3 separate regions of the Homo sapiens genome follow, and regions 2 and 3 are each linked to region 1. The links are contacts of gene promoters, found by promoter capture Hi-C in blood cells and fetal thymus (Javierre and others, 2016). All regions are on one chromosome and are shown on one strand. Each heading gives the region's core, a stretch centred on a gene start or on the middle of the fragment in contact. The rest is flanking DNA. Distances are from core to core; before and after follow the strand shown. Region 1 has its middle 7.7 kb from the start of TRY-GTA3-1. Region 2 holds the start of H3C8 (H3 clustered histone 8). Region 3 holds the start of H4C6 (H4 clustered histone 6).

What was found. The method cuts DNA at HindIII sites, captures the fragments that hold promoters and counts their contacts. A CHiCAGO score of 5 or more calls a contact.
Region 2: a contact is called between the fragment with the promoter of H3C8 here and a fragment that was not itself captured in region 1, in 17 of 17 cell types (erythroblasts, naive CD8 T cells, naive B cells and 14 more). The highest score is 12.1, in erythroblasts.
Region 3: a contact is called between the fragment with the promoter of H4C6 here and a fragment that was not itself captured in region 1, in 9 of 17 cell types (total B cells, monocytes, M0 macrophages and 6 more). The highest score is 9.2, in total B cells.

Annotation. Positions count from the first base shown.
Region 1 is chr6:26,583,458-26,586,157 of GRCh38, forward strand. No RefSeq gene overlaps it. Among named protein-coding and RNA genes, the nearest start is that of TRY-GTA3-1, 7.7 kb to the left of the region's middle. The HindIII fragment of the contact is 1,543 bases long and covers 612-2,154 here.
Region 2 is chr6:26,270,113-26,272,812 of GRCh38, forward strand. It overlaps H3C8 (H3 clustered histone 8), which reads right to left and starts at 1,301. Exons shown (of 1, transcript NM_003534.3): 1 at 806-1,301. The coding sequence starts at 1,272. The coding sequence ends at 862. It also overlaps the pseudogene H2AC10P. RefSeq lists enhancers at 203-342, 2,070-2,409. The HindIII fragment of the contact is 12,049 bases long and covers 702-2,700 here.
Region 3 is chr6:26,239,018-26,241,717 of GRCh38, forward strand. H4C6 (H4 clustered histone 6) reads left to right here and starts at 1,376. Exons shown (of 1, transcript NM_003540.4): 1 at 1,376-1,776. The coding sequence starts at 1,409. The coding sequence ends at 1,720. RefSeq lists enhancers at 1,003-1,102, 1,563-1,612. The HindIII fragment of the contact is 5,393 bases long and covers 1-2,700 here.

The sequences.
Region 1 (2,700 bases), core at 133-2,632:
ATGAACTTAAACCTGTTTCTGTGCAGATAATTCACATTATTATATCTCCAGCCCAGACTCTCCCGCAAACTGCAGACTGATCCTACTGCAGTATTCCTACCTACTCATCATCTCCACTTAGAAGCTAATAATCATCAAAACTGGACTCCTTATCTCATTCCCTCCCAAATCTGTCGCACCCACAGTCACCCTCACTCCATTCCATCCTTCACAGTTCTCTGGTCAGATACCTGGGAGTCAGCCTGATTCTTCTTTGTGTCGCATTCCGCATCAATTTATTGGGTGATTCTGTTGCTTCTATCTTCACTACATATCCATGATCTTACAGCATCTCACCACTCTTACTGCCACAACTCCTTTTGGAGACATCGTAATTTTCGCCTGAATCAATCTTGCCTTCCTGCTTCTGCCCCTGACTACTTACCTATTCTTCCACAGCATATTGGATGACCTTTCAAAAACCTACTGTTTTTTTTCTGGGGTGGGGTGGGGTGGGGTGGTTTATTCAAGGATTTAGGGGCAAGTGGTTTAATCCAGAAAACACTGGTGTGGAAAAAACAAAGTGAAAAAGAAAAGAAAAGAAACCAAGGAATACCACTCTGGGCTATTCAAGCTTAATCCTTCTTAACCCCTCTTAATCCTCAGAGGAGGAACTCTGGGAAACAATGTTGAAAATATGCCTAAAAATGATCAAACTTCAAGGGTAAGGGAGCTGGGATAGTCATACACCATTTACCAAAAATTGCTTGGGAGCTATTCTAAACCTCCAATTCAGTGGAACATCTGGCCTGCCATGAATGTGGGCAAAGTGTGATCAGCAGGTGGGGAAAGCTCTCATGCGATAAGATGCAAGTACCGGCAGGTAGAAATCAGCCTGGTGGACATTGACATGGTGAAGGTCAGGGGGATATGGGGGGGGCTTCTTGGTGGGATGCCAGAGGTAATATGGTGAGGCTCCAACATCTTCAATGTGGAGTTGATCCTTGATCCTTGGTCTTCAAAGTTGGTCAGTGGCCAGGTGCCGTGGCTCATGCCTGTAATCTTAGCAGTTTCTGAGGCAGGTGGATCACTTGAGGTCAGGAGTTCAAGACTAGCCTAGCCAACATGCTGAAACCCCGTCTCTACTAAAAATACAAAAATTAGTCGGGCGTGGTAGCACATGCCTGTAATCCCAGCTACTAGGGAGGCTGAGGCAGGAGAATCACTTGAACCCGCGAGGTGGAGGTTGCAGTGAGCCAAGATCACACCACTTCACTCCAGCCTGGGCAAAAGAGCGAAACTCCATCTCACGTACACACACAAAGTAATAATAATAGTAATAATAATAATAAAATAAAAGTTGGTCAGTGGTCAATACATTTTCCAGGTCATTCCTGGGAGAATAAACAGTTTAAAAAAGGCTCAGATATCTTAGAGAGCCTGAGATGTTCCTAGAACTGAAACCAGTGTTGTACAAAAGGAACACTGATGTTGAAGAACTACTGCTGGATTAGAAGGAGTTAGGAGTATTAGGAAGCCCTACCTGCCATTGGGAATAAAAGTAGAAGATAAGACAATGATCAGGTTCCTTGTAGCTATTTTAGCCATGAAAATAGAAACTTTAGACCAGATACAGCATGCATATATAAGATAGTCATGTAACTTTCCATTGAATGTGATGCTCAGTCTATTTACTAATAATAATTAGGCATAAAACTCAACATTAAGAAATGATCTCGCATGGTAATTTTCAGGTGCAGCAAGGATTTAAGAGGCTAAGATTTTATGATTCATGCTACAATTTTCTATTTGTCTTAGGGAAGATCTGTCCCCAAAGAAGCAAATGGTTGGTAGAAGTTATGAGGGAAAAAGGAAAGCAATCTGAATTGTGGGTGCTGTGGCAAGGGAGAAAAGGAGAAAAAGGACAGTCACTATGGCTGCATATGGGGCCAAGAGACAGAGCAGGTGAAATGCCTCTTGTGTCTAATAATTATTTTTGCTGTAATCCTAATGACTGAACTTTCCAGGCTTGAAAAACTGCCATAGTATTTTAAAATCCCAATCTTAGATCTGTGTTCATTCTAATTTTGAGATTTTTACTACTTTTAGCTCAATACATTTAAATGTTCTAGAATTCTACCACAAAGAACCAAAGAAACTTTAGACATTTTCCTAAGCTTATCATAATATAAAGTGATATTAGGCTGTACGTAGACCACTGGCAATACTTCACTAAGCTTTTTCTTGGGATATGTTGATATTAATATATTAAAATATATATGTATATTTAAAAACCTGTTTTCTATGAACACTTTTAGCATACCTCTTAGTGCTCAAGTTCACACAATTTTGTTGGATATTTACCTAGAAAGGAATCTGGTCTTCTTAATGAATTCATACTTCTGAATTTCCTGGATGTATCCATCTGGATACATTAGCTTATGCTGCAATAATAAGTAATTCCTCTCCCCCACGCCAAATCATACTGGCTTATAACCATAAACTCCTATTTCTGTGTCATAAAAATCTATCATGATTTGGTTGGTGGTCTCTATTTCACTAATAAACCCTGATTTGTAGATCCTCTACAATCAAAATAATCAATTATTTTGTCAAGGTAAGGTAAAAAGGGACCCGATAGATTGCTCACTGACTCTCAAACATCTGGAAGGGACACCTCATTTTCCAGAACAAATGTGTCATATGTCCACATCTATTTCT
Region 2 (2,700 bases), core at 51-2,550, 310 kb before region 1:
GGGATTGTTCTGTGCACTTGCTTTAGAGAACATTTCATAGAATATTTCATTCTGTAACATAAATAAACATGCATTTTGCAAAAGCTCACTCCTTGTAAGAGTTCACAGGCAGGATGCCTTTACTGATGAGACCAAAACCAACAACCTAGGCTTCCTAAATCAGTGTTCATGAGAATCATCTGAGGTATATGCAGATTGACTCCAGCCCTAGATGGGGATTGAAACAAGCTCCCATGTAATGCCCTGGGAGCTTCTAACAAGTTCCCACGTAATGCCCATGCTGCCAGTAATGTAGAGGCCAATCTGGCTTTCGTTTCTGCCGCCAATTTCTAATATTGAATTAAAAAATGGATCATTTCACAGAAAAACCAAGAACTGTTTAAAAAAAGGGGGAATTGTGGAAATAGCTGCTTCAGACACGAAAAAGCAGCAACCAAGGATATCCCTACCTACTCTCAACTGCCAATGCTCATACCTGTAAAGTTTTAAAAGGGATTAACCAGAAATACACAACGAAAAAAAATCCCATCTATAATGGGTGTAAGTAGACAACGCGACTAACGCTTGAGACAATGTATATAAACGCCCCCAGGTGGCCCCTTCCACTACCAAATCGAAGCTCCAAACCCCTAAAAGCCAGTTTAGAAAAGGACGCTGACAATCTGGCACTTTCGGGAAAAAGCACGGGAACAAATATAGCAAGCTTACCATTAACTTTAGCCAATCAAATGAGGACTTAAGTACTAAAACCAATGTTTAGTTTCAAAGATTTGATTAGTTAATCACAGCTATTTTCGGGTGAAAGTAGGCGGCTCTTAAAAGAGCCTTTTTAAGTTGGATAGAATTACTGCCCGGAAACCTCTACGCTCTCTCCCCACGAATGCGGCGAGCGAGCTGAATGTCCTTGGGCATGATAGTCACTCGCTTAGCATGGATGGCACACAGGTTGGTATCCTCAAAGAGCCCCACCAAGTAGGCCTCGCAGGCCTCCTGCAGGGCCATCACCGCGGAACTCTGAAAGCGCAGATCTGTCTTGAAGTCCTGAGCGATTTCTCGCACCAGGCGTTGGAAAGGCAACTTGCGGATCAGCAGCTCAGTCGACTTCTGATAGCGGCGAATCTCGCGCAGAGCCACGGTGCCGGGACGGTAGCGATGAGGTTTCTTCACGCCGCCGGTGGCCGGCGCGCTTTTCCGAGCCGCCTTAGTGGCCAGCTGCTTGCGCGGCGCTTTGCCACCGGTGGACTTGCGTGCAGTCTGCTTGGTGCGGGCCATCTCAGACTACCTGAAAGAAAAACTCAGCCACTTGGCAGAGTGGAAACTGCCCTTATATATACTCAGAAACATTCTAATTGGCCTTGTTGATTTTCAAAAGACCCGCGCAACAAAACCATTGGCTGAAGAGTCCAACGATGTGATTGGTGAATTACTGGAAAATCTGATTGGATGAATCACTTCATTTTTGAATCCTCTCTTCTCGGTTAGTCTGCGATCCAAGAACGTTAACTTCTTAAAGTTCTAATTCTGCGCTTCTCAAGCTGTAGTCCGTAAACGACTACTTTAAGACTTGGAAGACGCTAATTCTCATTCAGTAGATGTGTTGTGGGGCCAGATTCGGAGGACCACGTTTTGAGAAGTTTATCTTGTGCCGTTTTCTTGAGTCACCTGGACTGCTGCTAGCTGGAAACCTTTGACCATTATAAGGCAGGATTCCTGGGTGATGTACCTGGGAAATCACGAGCCAAGAAGTCACCGACATACAACAGTGAGCAACAAATGTTAACTGAATTCTATTTTGTCCCAAATGGTGTTTTGCTTCGGTTGAGAATTTTTAAGGCACAGGCTAATTTTAGGTTTTCCAACGACTCTTATCATTTACTTTTCGTTGGGTCCTATTGATGATATTCCAGGATACCACCCCCACTAGCCTCTTCTGCAGGATAACTTGAACACTGCAGTGGCCCTGTCCATCTAAACTTTACAAGGTTTTGTAAACGTTACTGAACTTGCTTCTTCCCGACTACATTAAAGCACTTACTTGAGATATTAAACATTTTCTCATTAGTCCTGTTTGCCTAGTCAGTCACTTGTATAGACAGGGCAACAGCACGGCCTGAATATTGGGCAGGACACCGCCCTGCGCGATAGTAACTTTGCCCAACAGCTTGTTGAGCTTCTCGTCGTGGATGGCGAGCTGCAGGCGTCGGGGGGTGACGCGGGTCTTCTTGTCTCGGGCCGCGTTGCCCGCCAACTCCAGGATCTTGGCGGTCAGGTACTCCAGCACCGCCTCCAGGTACACCGGCGCACCGGCCCGGACCCGCTTGGCGTAGTTGCCCTTGCGGAGGAGGCGGTGCACTCGGCCCACAGAAAACTGGAGACCAGCCCTGGAAGAGTGCGTTTTAGCCTTGGCGCGAGCTTTGCTGCCCTGCATTCCACATCCAGACGCAGTGAAGTATTTAAATACTTGTTTAGAAGAAGGAAAGTGATTGATTCTAGTAAAACGCAAGAGCTAAACTCTTATAATCTATATTCGGCAAAGTAGACTGTGCTATCTCCTGAACACAGATTTCAGCCAATCGAAAAGCAGGTGTTTAAAAAAATTTAAAAAAAAAAAAAAAAAAAAAACCACTTCTGACTTACATACTTATAGTTGAAAGGTCAAATTATGCAAGGTTGAGCTTCTGGGAGAGCCGATGAGATTTA
Region 3 (2,700 bases), core at 126-2,625, 340 kb before region 1:
GAATCTTTTATTAGGACAGTATTTCACAGAATTTATTAGTATTATTTTTGTTAATTTACAAACCTTTATTCACCATGATTTACCATGTATGCTTTAGTGGCATGAAAGCAGTGGTAGGTAGCAAGGTAGTGAGACTCCAGAATCGAGCCAACAATACAATGCCATTTATTAGAGGATAATGTCTTCAAGCCTGGGATTCCTTATCTTTACACCTCAGATATTGCATTATACATTGAAAAACTAAGAATGAAACTTCAATTAATATTGGTTTCCCTTACTAGAGGTCTTTCTTTATTAGGAATGCCAAAAACGATGTGAATGTATATGTCTCTGCCAAACGCTAAGTCTCATGATTGGCCAAATTTAAGAAGTATTGCTACATTTTAAGAATTAATAAAAATGGCCGGGCGTGGTGGCTCACGCCAGTAATCCCAGCACTTTGTGAGGCCAAGGTGGGTGGATCACCTGAAGTCAGGAGTTCGAGACCACCCTGGCCAACATGGCGAAACCCCGTCTTTACTAAGAAAATACAAAAATTACCCAGGTGTGGCGACGCGTGCCTGAAATCACAGCTACTCGTGAGGCTGAGGCATGAGAATCGCTTGAACCCAGAAGGCGGAGGTTGCAGTGAGCCGAGATAGCGCCACTGCACTCCAGCCTGGGCAACAGAGTGAGACCCCGTATCAAAAAAAAAAAATTAGTAAAAATACATTTTCAAAGAATCTTCACATTTAAAAATTAAAGCTAGGCGCCTGTAATCCCAGAACTTTGGGAGGCCGAGGCGGGTGGATCACCTGAGGTCAGGAGTTCGAGACCAGCCTAGTCAACATGGCGAAACCCCATCTCTACTAAAAATACAAAAATTAGCCGGGCGTGGTGACGCGCGCCTGTAGTTGCAGCTACTGCAGGGGCTGAGGCAGAAGAATCGCTCGAACCCGAGAGGCGGAGGTTGCAGTGAGCCGAGATCACGCCACTGCACTCCAGTCTGGGGCAGAGCAAAACTGTTTCAAAAGAAATAATAATTTTATTCTCTTGTCTATCCATTCGGTAGACAAGTGTAGCGTTACTGCCTCCTTTTTGCAAATAATAAGGATTTTAGGAGACAGACATTATCAGTTCGAGAGCCCACAGGCACTGGACTAGAAGACACAGAAACCTACACTCAAGACCCAAACAAGGAAACAGGAAGGAGTCAAATCAACTTGCATTTCCCCTACCCTCACCGCCCCCTTTCCTTCCCAAGGCAATAGTGTAGGGGACGCCCAGTAAGTTACGGAAAAGGCGGAGACAGAGGTTTCGTTCCCGCCCCTCCAATTCAGTCTCCAAAAAGGTCCGCATAATTGATATATAAGGGGCTTCAGTGTGTAGCAAAGTTGCAAAAGTTAAGAGTTGTTGTTTGTCTTCGATCATGTCTGGTAGAGGCAAAGGTGGTAAAGGTTTAGGAAAGGGAGGCGCCAAGCGCCATCGCAAAGTGCTGCGTGACAACATACAGGGCATCACGAAGCCCGCCATCCGTCGCTTGGCCCGACGCGGCGGCGTGAAACGCATTTCGGGCCTCATTTATGAGGAGACCCGCGGTGTTCTTAAGGTGTTCCTGGAGAATGTGATACGGGACGCCGTAACCTACACGGAGCACGCCAAGCGTAAGACAGTCACTGCAATGGATGTTGTCTACGCGCTCAAGCGCCAGGGACGCACTCTGTACGGCTTTGGTGGCTGAGCCTCACCCCGGCTTTTTATTTAACAGCTCACCCATAAAAGGCCCTTTTCAGGGCCACCTCCTTCGTCACACGAAGGGCTGTAACTGATGACGACTTGGGTTTCGTTTTGTAAATTTGGGATTCTAACTGAGTTAAACCGAGCCGTTTTTAGCGATCTTCCTAAGATGGCGGATGTGCTAAGGAGAAAGGGAAGGCGAAACATTAGAAACTTGTTCAGGTATTTCGATCGCAAACATTCACAGGAAAAGATGGTGGAAATGGTTTGGGAATACCAGCAGCCTTTTATGACGTATGTGATGTGTTTTATTCCCACGTTTCTGAAATTTACTCCTATGTTAGGTGGCTGGGACTTAACTACACTAGCATTACATGTTTAGTTTTTGAGATGGAGTTGCTCTTGTCCAGGCTGTAGTGCAATGACGCAATCTCGGCTCACCGCAACCACCCCCTCCCGGGTTTAAGCGGTTCTCCTGACTCAACCTCCCGAGTAACTGGGGTTACAGGCATGCGCCACCACGCTTGGCTAATTTTTTATTTTTAGTACAGAAGGGGCTTTTCTGTGTTGGTCTGGCTGGTCTCGAACTCCCGACCTCAGGTGATCCGCCCTTCTTGGCCTCCCAAAGTGCAGGGATTGCAGGCGTGAGCCACCGTGCCCGGCCTTAGTGTTATTTATTAGGCATAGAACGTGAGTAATCTTAGGGCGGCTGTGGACAGATCAATTACTGGTAAACTTAATCCACTACTTGTGTCCGGGCGCGGTGCCTCAGGCCTGAATCACAGCACCTTGGGAGACCACGGCGGGCGGATTACTAGAGCTCAGGAGTTCGAGACTAGCCTGGGCAACCAAAATGGTGAAACTCCGTCTCAACTAAAAAAGTTAAATAGGAAAGTTAGCCCGGCGTTGTGGCGGACGCCTGCTGTCGCAGCTAATCTGCAAGGGCTGAGGCAGGAGAATCGCTTGAGCACGGGAGGCGGAGAT